Regions from separate parts of the Homo sapiens genome. Here regions 1 and 3 are each linked to region 2. The links are contacts of gene promoters, found by promoter capture Hi-C in blood cells and fetal thymus (Javierre and others, 2016). All regions are on one chromosome and are shown on one strand. Each heading gives the region's core, a stretch centred on a gene start or on the middle of the fragment in contact. The rest is flanking DNA. Distances are from core to core; before and after follow the strand shown. Region 1 overlaps RTN1 (reticulon 1). Region 2 holds the start of RTN1 (reticulon 1). Region 3 overlaps RTN1 (reticulon 1).

The links. Contacts are between HindIII fragments. The CHiCAGO score rates a contact against its expected background, and 5 or more counts as called.
Region 1: a contact is called between a fragment that was not itself captured here and the fragment with the promoter of RTN1 in region 2, in 1 of 17 cell types (M1 macrophages). The highest score is 5.6, in M1 macrophages.
Region 3: a fragment that was not itself captured here is called in contact with the fragment with the promoter of RTN1 in region 2 in 4 of 17 cell types (M1 macrophages, M2 macrophages, megakaryocytes and 1 more); the score reaches 7.5 in M1 macrophages.

What each region holds. Positions count from the first base shown.
Region 1 is chr14:59,711,077-59,713,898 of GRCh38, reverse strand. The region is part of intron 3 of RTN1 (reticulon 1); the gene reads left to right. Among named protein-coding and RNA genes, the nearest start is that of MIR5586, 65 kb to the right of the region's middle. The HindIII fragment of the contact is 1,820 bases long and covers 380-2,199 here.
Region 2 is chr14:59,869,511-59,872,441 of GRCh38, reverse strand. It overlaps RTN1 (reticulon 1), which reads left to right and starts at 1,666. Exons shown (of 9, transcript NM_021136.3): 1 at 1,666-2,052. The coding sequence starts at 1,812. RefSeq lists a silencer at 1,658-1,757. The HindIII fragment of the contact is 1,996 bases long and covers 1,073-2,931 here.
Region 3 is chr14:59,628,892-59,631,736 of GRCh38, reverse strand. All of the region lies in intron 3 of RTN1 (reticulon 1), which reads left to right. Among named protein-coding and RNA genes, the nearest start is that of MIR5586, 17 kb to the left of the region's middle. The HindIII fragment of the contact is 3,798 bases long and covers 1-2,845 here.

The DNA.
Region 1 (2,822 bases), core at 40-2,539, 160 kb after region 2:
TTTCCCCTTTATACTGTCCTTTGCTGGTACTGTCCTTTGCTCAACTGCTGGAATTACTGGTATGGTAATTCTGAGCAAATTTTAAAAAGACAGTTCTGTCTTCAAGATGTTTTATTGCTTCTTCCTGAAATGTTGTCATTAAAAACTATACAAATCTTGTATAACCACAAGGTGAGTAGCTGGCACTCTCTAAAAGCTAGGAGACACCTAGGAAAACTGAAGTCCCTGTCTAGGGCTAGACTAGCAAACTTGGGAAATCACTGATTCTCTCTGAATTGGGCGAAGCAGTGAGCTGCCTGAGGGTAAGACATGCTTGTGACTTTTTGCAGTATTTTCCTTAGTCCAAGGACCCATTCTCAGCAGTAAGTGTTCTGAAGCTTGTCTGAGTCTGGTCGAAACCAGAATGCCAAGTTATGAGTTACACTGGAAATGTATGAGGGGAACTTCATCCTAGTGGGGAGCTCAGCTCATTATTGCCTGGAGCAAAAAGAGTAGATTGTTCTCATCGGAAATTTCCATCATGCTTTGGCATCCTGTGAAACTGTTCTGTTTTCAAAGGACTGGGAATCCGCAACTAGAATCACAGCAGCTGCTCCCAACCCCATGCCTGAGGTCCTTTCCCCCACCAGTGGCCCCTTGTCTAGATTCCCTCCCTCAAGACACCGTATCGTTTTGATTGCACATCCCCTTTTCACTGCGTTAAAGAATCGTGCGCCAATTGGATCTGGGTCTTACCTTCTCCACTTACTACTAGCTATGTGACTCTGGACAAGTTAACCTGTCTGCATTTCGATTTTTTTGTCTGTTCAAAGGAGATAATAGTACCTACATCACTGGATTCTTGGGATGATTATTTGAGATAATTTAGGTAAAGTGCTTATCCTCTAATGTTGTTGCTATTTAAATATTTATTTTAATAATAATTATACAATGAGATGGGGCTTTGGGAGAATCTAATACAGTTACTCATTTTTTTTTTTTTTTTTGAGATGGAGTTTCACTCTTGTCACCCAGGCTGGAGTGCAATGGGAGTGATTTCAGCTCACTGTAACCTCCACCTCCCAGGTTCAAGCAGTTCTCCTGCCTTAGCCTCCCAAGTAGCTGGGATTACAGGCATGCCCCACCACACCCAGCTAATTTTGTATTTTTAGTAGAGACAGGGTTTCACCATGTTGCCCAGGCTGGTCTCAAACTCCTGACCTCAGGTGATCAGCCTACCTGAGTGCTGGGATTATAGGTGTGAGCCACCACGCCCGGCCTAATTACTTATTTAATGCAGGAATACTTTCTGCAACATACTGTTTCATAACATTTCAGTTAGTAAGTTTGCAAGTTTTCTTCTTATGTCACAGTTTGATTGACTGCTTTCCAACAATTTATCGGAAGTTGAATTGATCTCACTAATAAGCTCTTTCCAAAGTATATTGTGGGACAGGTTGCCTCTCGGGAGGTTTCCTAAAGCCAGCTGACCCAATTTGTCATTTTCTGTTGACTGTAGTTTTCAATAAATATATGCTTAGTTCCTCACCCATAATATCTCAGAATATAATATGTGGATATAACATCTGTAGATCAGTATTTTCTAGTATGCCCCAGCTGATTTAAAATGTCCAGCCAGGGTTGGATACCACTTAGCTCTATCTGCTGTATATAGATTTTTGTTATCTTTAGGCCTATGTATTTTGGGGCTCCCTCCACAATCCTCCCTTAGCCTCAGGTGTGTGCCTTACTCTTTTGACTCTGTTAGGCCATACTACAGTAACAAACCTCAAAATTTCAATGGCTTAGCTCAACAAACATGTATTTCTGGCTTTCAACTATTGCTATTTGGTGGAGGCTTTCCTTTATTCAGCTACAAAGGGATCCAAGCTCCCTTTCTTCTGTGCCAGTTGAATATCAACATATGGCTTCTCAGGTTGCCATGCCAGAGGAAGAAAGAGCTGACACCAGCTCTTAAAAGCCTCCCCTGGAAATGATACATGTCACTTTTGCCTATGGCTCGTAGGCCAGAATTTGTCACATGACTCTATGCATCTTGATGCATGGAGCGCACTGGAAATTTGATGAGGTCCCTATCATGGACCTGTTTCACAATGATCTCTTGTCTTAGATCTTCAAAGCACTTATCATCACCCAGTACTTGATGTATGCCTTCCTTTATTTGTTTATTGCCTATCTCTCCCAAGTAGACGTTAAGCTTTTTGAGATCACAGGCTTTTGTTCACTGCTGTATCTCTAGTGCTTACAGTGATGCCTAGTGAGTAGTGGGGTCTTAATAAACATTTAATAAATAAGTGAATGGCAACTCCATACACAAAGGTGAAGCCACTGAAATCTGTTGTGGGATTTTATTTTATGTCAATGTGCTTTATAGCTTGTGTTCTTTTTCAAAAGCACATTTAAATGTTATTGAGTCCAAAGAGAAGTTAAAGAATAATAGGCTAATTAAGAAGAGAACATTATATGTGGATCTCCTACTATTACTCACGAAGAGCATTTATCTCTCAGTTGTTCATTCCTGGAGTGATCACCCCAGGAAAGGGCAAATGTAGTCAGCAGAGAAGGATGCTTTCTGAGGTTCAGCTGACATAGGCAATAAAAGACTTGAGTTGGCAAAGCAGAAGGTGATATCACTGTGGGCCTGTGTTCAGCCTTTTCTTTGCTGAGCTGAGCCTATCGAATTTGCACAAGACCAGTCTGTTGAAACTTTATAACCCCCATAAAATGGAAAACCTTCTGCAATGAATGCTTCTTCTCATTTTGAATACTGCAGAACCCAATTAAAAACAAGGTTTGTTATTAAGGCTGGTCTAGAGACAGGC
Region 2 (2,931 bases), core at 417-2,916:
TACTAAGTAATAGATTTGAAAAAACTTACAAGTGCCCTCTAATTACAAGACAGGATTAAGCTCCATGGAAATACAGCAGTGGAATAAGCTTTTCAACTTAACGGTTTTTTAAATACACTCTTGTTTTCCCATGGAAAGATGTTTAAAAATCATTATGATTCATGATAACCAATTATTTTGTTGTTTTTGGATGAGATTATTTTTATAGATTTATTGAGTTATAACTGACAACACATTAAATTGTTCATATTTACAGTAAACAATAAGTTTTGACATATGTTTGCACCTGTGAAGCTATAACCACAATCTAGATAGTGAATATTTCCATCATGAGACATAATTTTGAGTATGTCAAAAATGTAAAATTTTGGTGACCATCAGATTTCCAGGGATATCTGGCTTCAGGAGGCCATATTTATTGTTTAGTGAATGATTTTTCTCTAATTTATTGTCATCTTTTGAACATTAGTGCACTAGCAGAACAAAAGATTAGGCAGACTCTGGGCTTTTTCATTTTAGCATTATTGAGGAGCACCTGAATGGTCCTGAAGTTGGCCTTTGAATATACCAATGGACAGGTATGAAATCCTCAAGATGCGCATGGTGGCCAAGAGTCCCACAGTCTCACAGTGTGTGCGGTACCGTCTGCGCCCACCTTTCCTAGAGAAGAAACAGCAGAAAAACCTATTCCTTCACCCTGTGTGTTGTGGTGAATCTTAGTTTTTAAAGGCACATTATTTTATTATATAAACAACTTGGGAACCAATAAAACACAAGACATTTGAAAAGATGGGTCTTCGTATGGGCACAACATATGATAAGGCAAGTCACTTTCCTCCTCTGAGTTTGGGTTTATTTGCTGACTATCTTCCATTTTATCACAGTGAACTGTAAAGAAAAAGATGCAAGCTTCATGGAATGTCCAAATTCTGAAATACAACGGACTGCACAGACAGCTTATGATTAGGATGGCCTTGGCTCAGTGTTTCTGAAAGCAAATGTACAGCTTTTGTCCTTGCCTATTGACACCCTGTTTGCCCTCAGGGCTGGTCAGGGTGAGATCTGTTAAGCTTTTTTTGGAGGCTGTCCTGATAACTCATTTCTTTACTCCACTATTTTCAGGCCCATTCTGGAAACGCAGGATTTAACCGCGGGGTTGCAGCTTCCCTGGTCTCCATCTGCCATCAGAACCCATCTCCACCCCTTCCCCGTTCAGACCTGTGTCCCCTCCACAACTCATACTGGTCACTCTCAGAACTGTGGCCCTGAGTTCTCTAGCTTTCCCTCTTTGCCTCGGGACCCAGGACACCAGTCGGGGCTTAACTTTCTCAGTTGGGAAGGCGACGCTGCTGGTGGCTGCTGCTACTTGCTGGTTCTTCCTTTTTTTTCCTCCCCAAACGAGAGGAAGATTCGAGTGGATTTGGCACATCCCCTAACCGGGGCCTGCCATTTGCAGGTTGGGGGCTGACGTGCCCAGGAGGACCCGGACCAAGCAGGCCATTTTCACCTGCGTAATAACAGGATTGGGAATAGCGAAGCAGCGGCGGCAGCAGCGAGTGGAGTAGGAGGAGGAGCGCAGGCAGCGGCCGCGGCGGGGCCGGAGGAAGAGGAGGGGGGAGAAGGAGGAGCTGAAGCGGGAAGAGCGGCAGGCAGCGGCTCGGCGGAGTTGCAGCAGAGGCGGCGGCGACGCTGAGACACCGCAGCTTCCCTGAGCGCCGAGTCCCTCCGGGGACAGCAGCAGGGAGCGCCCGCGCAGCCACCGAGCCTCTGCCCAGCCAAGCCGCCGTCGCCGCGCCGGGGGACCGCCAGCCATGGCCGCGCCGGGGGATCCGCAGGACGAGCTGCTGCCGCTGGCCGGCCCCGGGTCCCAGTGGCTCAGGCACCGGGGGGAGGGGGAGAACGAAGCGGTGACGCCGAAAGGGGCCACGCCGGCGCCGCAGGCTGGGGAGCCCAGCCCGGGGTTGGGCGCCAGGGCCCGGGAAGCGGCGTCGCGGGAAGCCGGCTCGGGCCCCGCCCGGCAGTCGCCCGTTGCCATGGAAACTGCATCCACAGGTAAGGCGGGCGCCGCTGCCCCTCAAATGGCGTCGGGGACCAGGGCCCCCCAGTCAGTCCCCTTCTGCGCGGCTCTCCTGGGCACCTGCCTCGCGCTTTCTGCCTTGAGCGCCGACCCCACCCCCGCGTCGCCACGGGCGACTGGGAATATTCGCGGGCTGGTAGAAAACAACAATTTTATTTTTCCCAAAGGCTCAGAAAAAGTCAAGATGCTTTTGATCCTTTTATTTCATTATCATGATTATTTCCGCTTTAAAAATTGTTCTCATAGGCAAACAGCAGCATTCTGGCTGCTGGCGAGTCTGGGTACAAGTTTCTCCCTCCTGCCAGGAGGCTCCGAGCTGTAGGGCCCGTTTGACAGGTTGTGGGGATTTTGGGGGGCGTGTTTGCGCGCAGTGTGCGCGCCGGCTACAGGAGATGCTGACAACCGAGCGGCGGGCAGGCCCGCGGCCCCTGGACCCGGCTCTGTCCAGGGCAGAGATGTGGCTGTAACTGCCCCTTACCCTTGCCCTCCACGAATCGCCACCACACCTTACTCCCCCCACATCCCTCCGCCTTTTCTCCCGCAGAAAACAAATCCCAGGGAGTTTGTCCCTAATTCGGGAGGCACAGCTTTGCAAGAGGGTTGGGTGCTGTGGCTGCCCCCGCCCAAAACCTGTATTTCGCCGCTGCCCGGATGGCCCCACCTTGCAGGGAGCATTGAAACTTCAAGTCCTAAGTGCGGCGGGCCTGGCTGTGGGTTGGAGGGCTTGGGTGGTGGTGAGTGGACGTGGTACAGTTTACCAGCAGTCTAAGCGCCCCCCCCCCCCCACCCCGGAAATTGCCCTGGGTTTGGCCATTCTTCGCCTGACGCCCTATTCAAAGTCTGAGCGCGCCAGT
Region 3 (2,845 bases), core at 275-2,774, 240 kb after region 2:
CTTTTCCAGACAATGCCCACATTCCAGTCCTTTCTCTTTCCTATTTCTACCTTTTCTTCATCAAAATACATTTATCCCATCCATTCCTTCAGGGTCTTGATGTATGTTCTGATAAAGTAGTTTATGGTAAGATTTAAAAAGCAGGTCACCACCCATTGTTCTGTTCCTTCCTTAGACATTTGCATTTTAACTGTGGACTCCTGACATCCTTAACTACCTGGGCTTGGAAGCCAAAAGTCTTATCTCCCAAATACACACCACCCACCTCCATTGCCCCCCAGTGGTCAATCCCAAAGATGACACTGTTGAGACAGAATGCCCTTTGCTTCCCTGAGTTCTGTTTGAACGTCCCCACAAATGACACCCTTGGATTGTCACTGCATTGACCAATGACTCCACGTACCAGAGTCCAAGGGCTTTGGTCTGGGGTCTACAGGCACCGCATTCTGACATGGATTCCTTCAACCCACAAACAGAGAGGGGTAACCCAAGAAATACACAAGCCCTCTGGGACAGAGCAGTAGGCTTTCTCTCCAGTGATTGTTGCTTGCCAACAAAGGTTTTGGATATCTGTGGAATATTCCAAAAGGAGAGAATCTGGCAATTCTTCAGAAGATTCTGGGCAATTAAAATTCATCGAGTTCAGATTTTTAAGAGTTAGAGGGAGAAGTGAAAGGTAAACGGTGGCAACAATTAGGGAACATTATGCTGCAAGCCTGACATTTATGATGCCGTTGACTTGGTCTTGTCCAGCAGGTTTCTTGGGTTTCTCAGAAATTTCTAGAATATGCACCTCGCATATTCTGGGAGTCAAGAACTCCCAGGAACAGCCCAAGTCCTCCTCCTCTCACCCCCACCGTCAGCCCTTTTTCCCCTCCTCCCAAACCTCCCACCCACTGTCCGCGTCAGCGCCTTCGCGGCCAGAACCGCTTTACCCGTCTCCAGGGTAGCACCCTTGGGCAGCCCAGCCAACGCTGTCGCGTGGAGCGGCGCCCGCATCCCCATGCGCGCAGGCGGCTCCGGGGCCGCGCCGCGCTGATTCGCTGCCGGCCGCGCAGACTGCGGCGCCAGCGACGCTCCCGCCCCTCACCGCGCGCCGCCTGGTGCAGCCTCAGTCTCTCCGCAGCCGCGCGGCCACTGCGAGCCCAGCCGCAGCAGCCGGGCACCAACGCTTGAGTGCACGCTCGGCGCCCCCGAGGAGAGCCACGGCGAGCCCCCAAAGCCCGCACGATGCAGGCCACTGCCGATTCCACCAAGATGGACTGTGTGTGGAGCAACTGGAAAAGTCAGGGTATTCTCTTTATTTCAGTAGTGCATGCCTGAGGCGCACGGGAAACCCGGGACCTGGACTCGTCCATTGTGCATCATTTCACCTGTGGGACCTGTGCATGCTTTATACCCCAGAGCTTTGTGTTGGGGGGTAGTAAACCTCTTATTTCAAGAATCAAAATGGATGGTGCTTGGTTGTTGTTTTTTTCTTTTTTTTTTTAACCCCACCCCCACCCCTTTGTTTTCTTGTTGTAATGCTGGTATTTTAAATAATGCATCAATCGCCTCCTCCGGGAGTTCTTTTGGGATCTGTGCATCATTCAGTACTTGTTTAATGTTTTCTCATCCCCGGAGTTAAAGTGCTTTCTTATTGTTCCATGCATCCCAGTGCATTTATTTCTGCCCAAAGGTTGAAATCTCCTGGCAGAACCATTAACTGAGAGGGCTGGAGTGCATCCTTTTAAGAGGGACACACCCATTTCAGGGTTGTTATTTGTGGTCACACAAAGGAGAGTGGAGATGCAGACTAGCTCTCGAAATCCTGAAAATATGATGGCGTAGCCACATATTAGGATGGTTCACTTTGAAATATTTGGGGTTTTTTTCTGTCATTGGAGTAACCTGTGACTACTATTTATTAATAATAGGTATCTGTGAAATAAATGGAGGGAAAGAACGAAACAGTGCCCGTGGCCCTTGGTATAACAGATTTATTTTGGAATAGTCCATATTAGCACTGGGTGTGGCTACCCTCCAGCCTCGCTTGGATTGCTTTTCAGCCATTTTTATTCAGCCTCACACTTCACACATCCATCTCTCCTTTGTTACATTAAAATTCACCTTGCAGTTACAGAGTATGAGGAGAAAGATAATTTGCAAGAATGAATTGTGTGTAGTAACTTGGGTGTTTGTCGGAGGTAGTGTCTTTTCATATTTAACAAAGATGGTTCTGAAGAAGGCGCGTTTAATTTAACCTGCAGGGTTTTGCAGCATCCCTCAGGAGACCAAGAATACTCTGGAGCAGCAGCTGATTTTGTAAAAACCTGGCATCTTCCCCTTGTAATTCTATATCACAGGAAGGATAGGATGTCCTTTTATCTTTAATGCCTCTGTAGGGTTTTGCTTCGGTATATATTTTAAGAAAAAGTAAACATAAATCTCAGAATTAAAAGCCTGCTTACCTTGCCTCTTGTTTGTTGGATTGGGTGGCAATGACATAAAATACAGTCGTCTACTTCAAATTATGTGAGTGTTGGAAATACCGTTGTCAAAAGTAAATCGATGGAGCTGATAAATTTAAAAGCCAGTAAATAAGAAATGTATGCCAGTTGAGGCACAATGTTTTGAAGAATGATGACAATTACGTGGAAGAACATATGTTCAATATAGAAGGCAGCTGTGAAAATATTTTGTAACATTTTATTCTTGTTCTGTGTTTAGATCCATCCAGTTTATTTGATATACACACCTGACAAACAACTATGGCTTGGTATAAGATCAAATTTAGTTGGACATAAACACTGGATTTTAGACCATGATTATGAGTTTCTAGTATTTTTAACAAAAGTAGATATCC